2 separate regions of the Homo sapiens genome follow, and region 2 is linked to region 1. Evidence: promoter capture Hi-C in human tissues and cell types (Jung and others, 2019). All regions are on one chromosome and are shown on one strand. The core of a region is centred on a gene start or on the middle of the fragment in contact, and the rest is flanking DNA. Distances in the headings are between cores, read along the strand shown.

Region 1 (3,857 bases), core at 1,330-3,829:
CCGGAGCATAGTTGCCCCCAGGCATGGTCCCTGCTGGCTCCCAAGTCAAGGGATGCTTCCTCATGGCCAATACAGGAAAGGAATTGCCAGCGTCAGCAAAGGACGCTGCCTCTGTCTTCCTCAGCTCCGTCTCCCCTGTTCCCCCACCCAGCCACCATCTACTGGAGCTCTGTTCAGAGGACCCAGCTTTCTGATCTCTGAGCCCACTCCAGCCTCTGCCTCCCTCTGATAAAATCCTCCCATCGCTTTATAGGCCCCATTAACTGTCAGCTCCTCAGAAGCCGCCCCTGGTCTTTTTCTCCCTCTAGTTCCCAGATCTATACATTTCTCTAGATTTAATGCTTGCCATGTAACACACACACACTTCCAGACTGGTTTTCCTGAGCAGACCAGGTCTGAGCCTTTTTCACTCTTGAATCTTCACTCAATAAATCCAGACCCTGCCCCCAGTGTCCTCCACTCCAGCATTTTATTTATTGGCAAAGAGCCAGGCTCTATCCAATGACTAGTAAGCCACTTCAACCATCCTCAGGCAACTTATGAAATTAAAAATCATAACTGGTGAACTATGTTGTCCTTACATAATAGTAATAACTTTTTATTTATTTATTTTAGAAACAGGATCTCACTCTGTCCCTCACACTAGAGTGCAGTGGCACAACCATATCTCGTTGTAACTTCAAATTCCTGGGCTCAAAGGATCCTCCCACACGTACCACCATGCTCAGCTAGTTTTTTAAATTTTTGTAGCGATGGGGTCTCACTATGTTGCCCAAGCTAGTTGCAAACCCCTGGCCTCAAGCGATCATCCTGCCTTGCCTCCCAAAGTACTAGGATTAATGCATGAGCCACTGCACCCAGGCAACTCACTTTAATTTATTGAGCATTCTTGTGCCTAGCACTGGTTTAAGACCTAAACATACAATATTCCATTCAATCCTCACAACTCTATGAAGTAGAGACATTCCTACCTCCATTTTACAAGTGAGGAAATTGAGGCACTGACTTCATCAAGGTTACCAAACAGGTCAGAACCCAGGCAGTCTGATCCAGGAGTCTGTATTCTCAGCTACTATGCTATTATGGACAGGGTGCTACAGGACACAGAAGGGCAATTAACCTTGGGGGTTAGGCGGAGGCAGCGCTGCCTGCGCTGAAAAACATGTAGAAGGTAGCCCAGCAGACAAGAGAAGGAGGAGGTTTCCAAGCAGCGGGGGCTGGTGTGTGCAAAGTCATGAAGATACGAACAGCAAGGGTAGGCATGGCGCATGCTGCAGTGCCGTATTATTGGACCTTAGGGTGCACACAGGAGACTGCTAGGTCAGATCACAGAGAGCTGTGTAAATTGTGCTAGGGGTTCAGCACATAGGCAATAGAAAGCCAGAAAAAGGTTATCAGCAAGGAACTGGCACCGTAAGACTTGTGTTCTAAAAGGATCACAAGAGTTACAGTTTGGAGACTGGGTTGCAAGCTGCCAGGGCTGGACTGTTGGGAATTGACAATACATCAACAGCGTGGTAACAGAAGAGATGGAGCTGGCCCAGGTTTGAAGGATGTTCAGGAAGTTGGCAGTACTAGGTCACTTTTAAGATGTGGGACTTGAAAGAGAGGAGAAAGTGTAAGGAAATTACCAGACTTCCGGCTGGGTTGGGGTAGAGGAAGAATTAATCTGCAAGGAAAAGACCAGTTCAAGTTTGGACCCAGTGAGCTCCATGTGAAGCAGAGCTGTCCCAATGGCCGCTGGATGGGCAAGCGTGGAGCTCCAGGGAAGGGCTGCGCTGAAGATGTGGATCTGGGTATTTAGTTGGTGTAAAGCTGAAGCCGTGGGGGAAAATAAGACCACTGAGATTCAGTGTACAGAGCGAGGGGTTGGGCGACAGAGGAAAACGTGAAGCGGGACTTTGACCGACTGTCAGAGCGGTACGAAGAAAACCAGGAGACATTGACTAACCCAAAAATGCGGGGTGAGGGAACGTGTCATTAGAAATGAGTGTCAATGGTACTATGCACCTCTAAGAACTCAAGACTTCAAAGGGCCCTTTTAATACCAATTAGGAAGTTATTCACGGCCGTTTCGAAAGGAAGTTGGGGAGACACGGGATGACACTGAGACGCAGAGCTACCGGAATGCGTAGATGTTTTCCTCTCACCCCAGATTCCGACCCCTCCCCATACCTGCCCCTGCTCATAACACCCAGACACCTCACCCTCTCCTCTCCCCTCAGTTAAGACGGAGGCTTTGGAAGGAGATCCCGAACGTCCTCCCCGGGCTCCCCAGGATAGGCGGGGTCGCCAAGAGTCATTGCTGGAGACCCCAACCCGCGCGGGGCGGCGCGAGGCCAGACAGAGGAAGGGGGCGGAACCTGAGACGCAGCGGGTGTGGGAAGGGTCGGACGGAACCCAGCACGGACAGCGGGCGGCGAAGCGGGTTCGACCGGCGGAAGACGGCCCTCGCACGCCACCCGCTCCCAGCGACCGCTCCGGGACCCACCTGCTCCATGTCAGCCACGGCCCCGGCTCTTCCCGCCCCAACCGCAGTCCGGCTCCGCGGCCTCAGTAGCGCCTCAGAGCGGAAGAAGATCTTCCGGCAGCGCCACTTCCGCCGCTGAGTCCGCCCCCGAGAGCGAAGCGGGACTTGCGTTCGCCTGCGGCCCCGCCCCTTCGCCCCGCCTCCAGCCCCGGCCCTGCGCAGAAGCGGACTCAAAGGCCGGAGTCTAAGGGCCTACCTAAGGGTAGGGGAGTGGGAAGAAGACCAGGGCCGTCGTTATTAGGCCACACAGGCCTGGCACTGAGGGAAAAAGGGGAATTTCCCGAGGGGAGTCCTGTGGGGATGGGGAAATCTTTGGAGGAATCCAGTTATTCGAGAAGGACTTCCCCACCCCACCTGCCTCCTTCAGCCATCCCAAGCAGCAGCTAGAACTTCTGTAGTTCTTCCTCTGAGTGCCCCGAGCCTGCTGTCTGCCAGAAAGACTCCTAGACTAGAGGATTGGACAGTAGGGTCAAAACCCTAACCCTTGGTTGACCACCGGCCTTCCCTATCAGGACGCCCCATTACCTCCCTTTTCCTCCTGCTTCCCCTGAAAGAGGAGTCTCAGCAGTTATTTACAAAGATTTATTACAGCACGGGAGGGGTTCAGGCCTGGAGTCAGGGAAGAAGGGGAAAGGGGCAGAGCAGCTGGGGGACAAGGAAAACCTGGCGCCCCCCGCTGTGTGCCCCACCGGGGACATAAACTAGGCGGCATTCCTGGCATCAAAGCACAAAACGCAACAAAGAGGTCTCTGCCAGTCCATCTTCCAGGCACCCAGGAGGAGCAAGGGTGATTAAGGGAAGATTCCCAAAATGTTGAGGCTATGGAGAAAAACGCCTTAGTCCTGGACCCTGGTAGAAGCCGGTGAGAGAAGTGGTGACTTGGAATCCTCCATAGGAAAGTGGGTAGAAAAGGATCTAAGGGTACCTCAAGGTTCTCAGGACCTCCTTTCCCCAGATCTTAGGGTCCTGCCCTGTGGGTCTCCTGTGTCCAGGGGAGAGGATCTGGGGAGTAGAATTGTGAAGGGCAAATCCCTGTTCCCGGTTTTCTGGATTTTCCAATGTGGGCTGTCTCACATCCCACCTCCCGCTGGGTGAATGGAGGAATGACTGGCAGGGGTGGGCATCAGGCAGCAAGTGCCCAGGTTCTCTGGGTATCAGCCAAAGGTGGGCAAACAAGCAAACACAGACCAGCCTTAGTCTTCTAGAAGTCAGAAGCCGCAGCCCTAGCAGGCGAGGGGAAGAGCACAAAACAGGGTGAGGATAGAGTGGGTTTCTGGGGAACAGCGATGTCCCCTCCACTTCCTCCTGGGAGATGCAGGCTGGGTGC
Region 2 (3,637 bases), core at 1,089-3,588, 440 kb before region 1:
GTGATACAGCGGTAGTGATAACCAGTTGCCTTGTCCCCACACACGACACACTGCTCGTCTTTGTCCAGGTAACTAGGGATATACCCTGGGAGGAAGGAAAGGATGGAGGAAGGCAGGCATGGCTTGGAGTCCCAGCAGAGAGGCTCTCACACTTTTCCCCATCCCTCAACTTTTTGTTTCTGACCCCTCTCCTAGCCCAGCCTCCCTGGTAGAATCCTAGAGAGACACGAGGTGAACCTGTCCATCTCTGCCCTAAGAGTATGAAGAATCTCAGTTCTTCTGACTGCCCATTCAGGGCTTTCTTCTTGATCTATCTACAAGGCAGAGGATGGTGGAGAGGGAAAAATAAACGTCAGCTGCTCACTGGGGATAATACAGCCCCTCAGTCCTTCAGCTCAGGCCCTGATTCTGGTAGGGCCTCAGATGAGGGTATTAGGGGAAGAGGGAAGAGGCCGTCCTGACCTAATCCACCCTCAAAAGCTGGGCACATCCCACATTACCTTTCTCACCCCCAGACAAGTCCATCCCAAGCCCTCTAGGAGGCTCCCCCCAGGGAACACATGAATTACTGTTCCACATCCAGGTCCAGAGGAGCCCTGGCTGGGTTTGGTGGGGTTGGGGACGTGGAGAAGGGGCACGCACAGCCAGCCTCACCTGACATGCTGGTTTTCAGGGAACATTGGCCGTTCTTTCTTTTTCGCTTTCCATCTGGTGACCTGGCACTGGATGGAGGCAAAGTGGGCAGAATCACAGAGCAGTCTTCGAGTAGCCCCTTTCTCATCCGAGAGGCTTATGCAATCCCCCAAGGCCTGATTCTTTCCATTTTGTGTCCTCATTCTACCTCCCACCCCCCAGGGTCAGCTGACAATGCTTAAAAGGGTCCAGTTATCTGGAAGTTGCAGGGGAGAGAGATAAGGGGCTTGGCTGTGGCACAAGCATATTCTAGAGCCCCAACACACACACATTCACCCGCCAGAAGACCTGAAGCACCCATAATCTGCAGGACATCCTCATCTTTCAGTACATGACGAATACGCTGGAAGAATTCTCAGGATATGCTTAAAGCTATGTAGCCTTTAGAACACACACATACATATGCAACATAACACCGGCACAGATGAATAACCATGCAACCTTCACTATAAACCCATGGATGGTGAGTATGCACCAGGGCCAACATACCTGTGAAATTTTCAGGGCATTCTTAAATGTGCTATACAACCTCTAGGATATGCCCATGTGTTACACAACACTCTGCACAGGCACCTCATAAAACCACCCTCATCCCTCCAGTGTGCACGTGTTGCTTGAGCTCCAGGTCATACACACATGCTAAATAACCCACAGCAATAGAAAACACTACACCCTCTGCACAGCCTCCATTTAACAGAGCAGCAAACTGAGACCCTGCTTGTGCCTGGTGACACCATGAGCTAGAGTCAGAGCCGGGACTGAGCCCCTCTGTGCAGCGTATTATTAGCAACCCTCAGCCACTGCACATATATGTTGCCAGGCTCTCCACATACATGTTGCATAACCTCGGTGCACACAGGTTACATAAGCCCTCTACATGCATGCAAGGATTGTATAACCTCCCGCACCCACCCTGCGTGTGGCATGTTGCAGGCCCCTTCCTCCTGGAGCCGGATGCAGCTCCCAACACACTGACACAGTGACCTTGGCCAGGGTCACAGTCACAGACAACCCTATGCTCCACGCCCCGTGGGGATTACTCCGGTCTACTTCCTATGAGGCTGAAAGGTCAGGTCTCCCTCACGCCTCCCAGAGGGTTGGGTGCAGGGGAACTCAGCCCACCTAGGCCCCAGTTGAGCTAGCGGCTTCAGCAGTTACCACCAGACTCACAGCCTCTGAGTGTAGTCCTAGAGATAGCCACAAGGTGGCGCATAGACATGGGGGAGGGGAAGGTGATGGGGGAGGGGTTGCAGTCTTAGGAGACTGGGAACTGGCATTCCTGCCTTTCTCCAAACATTAAGCACAGACTCTTCCAGACCCACAGAAGCCTAAGCTGGGAGACACAGGGGCTGCAAGTGACAGCCACACAGCGACAGGCCAGATCGTCCTCAGAGTCCTTCCTGGGGTGAGGCTTTGGGGGAGGGGAGCTACCCCATGCCCTGCCCAGCTGTGAGTTCCATCTACTTCCTCTACCCTCCAGGGACCCAGTTGTGGGCCTTAGGGCTTTGCCTGGCCAGGCCTCTGGCTTCCTGGCTCGGGATCTGATCTCCTAGGCAACAGTCAGCCACACTGCTCCCCGGAGCACCCCCACCCCCACCCTCTCCCTGGCCATAGGCACAGGCTGTACCCAGCTCCCAGGGCACCGTGCCAACTGGGACAAAGCTCTGTGCCACTTGGAGCTGATAGAAAAGACAGAGACCCTCTGGGCTCCTCAAGGGCAATGCAGATCACAGGTAACCATCCCTTGGTGTATGTGCAGGGCTGACACCTCACCCATGTGGAAGCAAAACCATCATGGTTGGCGTGCACTTTCTGGGAGGAGCCCCATCGCAGTGCCCGCCCTTGACCATGAACAAGGAAGAGCTTGTGGGGCTCCCAATAGATTCCGAATATAAGCTTGGGCTATGACCAATAGTTACTGGTGCATGTGCCCTGAAATGTATTACGTGAACCGCAGCTTGTGGACAACACACTTGTGGTCAGATAGTAAATGGGCTGGTAGGGAGAGGAAGAAAATGGCAAGGCTGTTTGGATCCCACATGCTCAAGGTAAGGGCAGCAATGGTGGAAGGGACGTTGGGGGCATCTGAGACTGCCCAGCAATGTCTAGGGAAGAGCCCCTTATGTGCTCCCTGTAATTGCTCTGTATCGCTCCCCGCTTCAAAATGAGCATCTCTCAATCCAAGTGCCTGTCACATCTGAACATGACTTCATCTGCCAGACAAAGGTAGGCAGAAGGCTTGCTGGCCTCACGTCCATCCCACAGAGGTGCTTAAAGGCGGTGCCTAAAGGAGAGCTCAGCCAGGTGCCCATGCCTGCTGCTTAGGAGTTGGCATGACCTAGTTGCTGAACCCATTACCTGTTCTCCTCTGGGTCTGACCCACACTCCACCTTGCTTGGCTTCTGTTCCATTCACTTCAATTCCATCCAGGATGCCCTCCAGCACGCCAAGAGACTGGGGTGGGCACACTGGCCCCCCCGGCACACCCACAGGCCACCCACCCCCTGCCACCCAGGCCCTAGGGCACAGCACCCATGATACCCGCCTCAGCACTTGGCCTTTCACACCATGCCCTGCGCCCCAAGGGGGGCGGGCGGTGGGAGGGGCCAGGGAGTGGCAGGTGGGAGGGCTGGGGGCAAGCTGGGTTTGTGGGTCCCGGGCTGTGTGCTGGGGGAGTAGCTTCGGAGTCTTGTCCTGTCCAGAGATCCCTGTGGAGAGAAGAGAGAGGCAGGGGTAAGAAGGTGTCACGGTAGGAAGGTGGGTAGGATCCCTTTGGTGGCAACATTTGGGGCTTTGGGATCCCATAACAAGACAGCAGGGGGCAGGAAGGGCAGGCATAGAGAGGGGACCAGGATGATCCCTTAGATAACAGGTACAGCAGGCGAGATTGGAGATCCACCTCCTAAGCCCCAGACATGGGAAGGAATGGAGGGAGAGAATGAGA

Evidence for each region. Contacts are between HindIII fragments. The study calls those that stand out against the background at their distance.
Region 2: a fragment that was not itself captured here is called in contact with the fragment with the promoter of STARD3 in region 1 in 4 of the 25 tissues and cell types used here (dorsolateral prefrontal cortex, hippocampus, lymphoblastoid cells and 1 more).

What each region holds. Positions count from the first base shown.
Region 1 is chr17:39,635,866-39,639,722 of GRCh38, reverse strand. It overlaps STARD3 (StAR related lipid transfer domain containing 3), which reads right to left and starts at 2,579. Exons shown (of 15, transcript NM_006804.4): 1 at 2,492-2,579. It overlaps PPP1R1B (protein phosphatase 1 regulatory inhibitor subunit 1B), which reads right to left. Exons shown (of 7, transcript NM_032192.4): 7 at 3,099-3,857. LOC124903998 (a long non-coding RNA gene) reads left to right here and starts at 2,433. Exons shown (of 2, transcript XR_007065749.1): 1 at 2,433-2,732. RefSeq lists enhancers at 1,908-2,027, 3,811-3,857 and a silencer at 2,568-2,637. The HindIII fragment of the contact is 10,179 bases long and covers 1-3,857 here.
Region 2 is chr17:40,073,956-40,077,592 of GRCh38, reverse strand. THRA (thyroid hormone receptor alpha) reads right to left here. Exons shown (of 9, transcript NM_199334.5): 2 at 3,052-3,401; 3 at 655-722; 4 at 1-85. The coding sequence starts at 3,104. Among named protein-coding and RNA genes, the nearest start is that of THRA, 13 kb to the right of the region's middle. RefSeq lists enhancers at 1,751-1,830, 1,954-2,809. The HindIII fragment of the contact is 5,644 bases long and covers 1-3,637 here.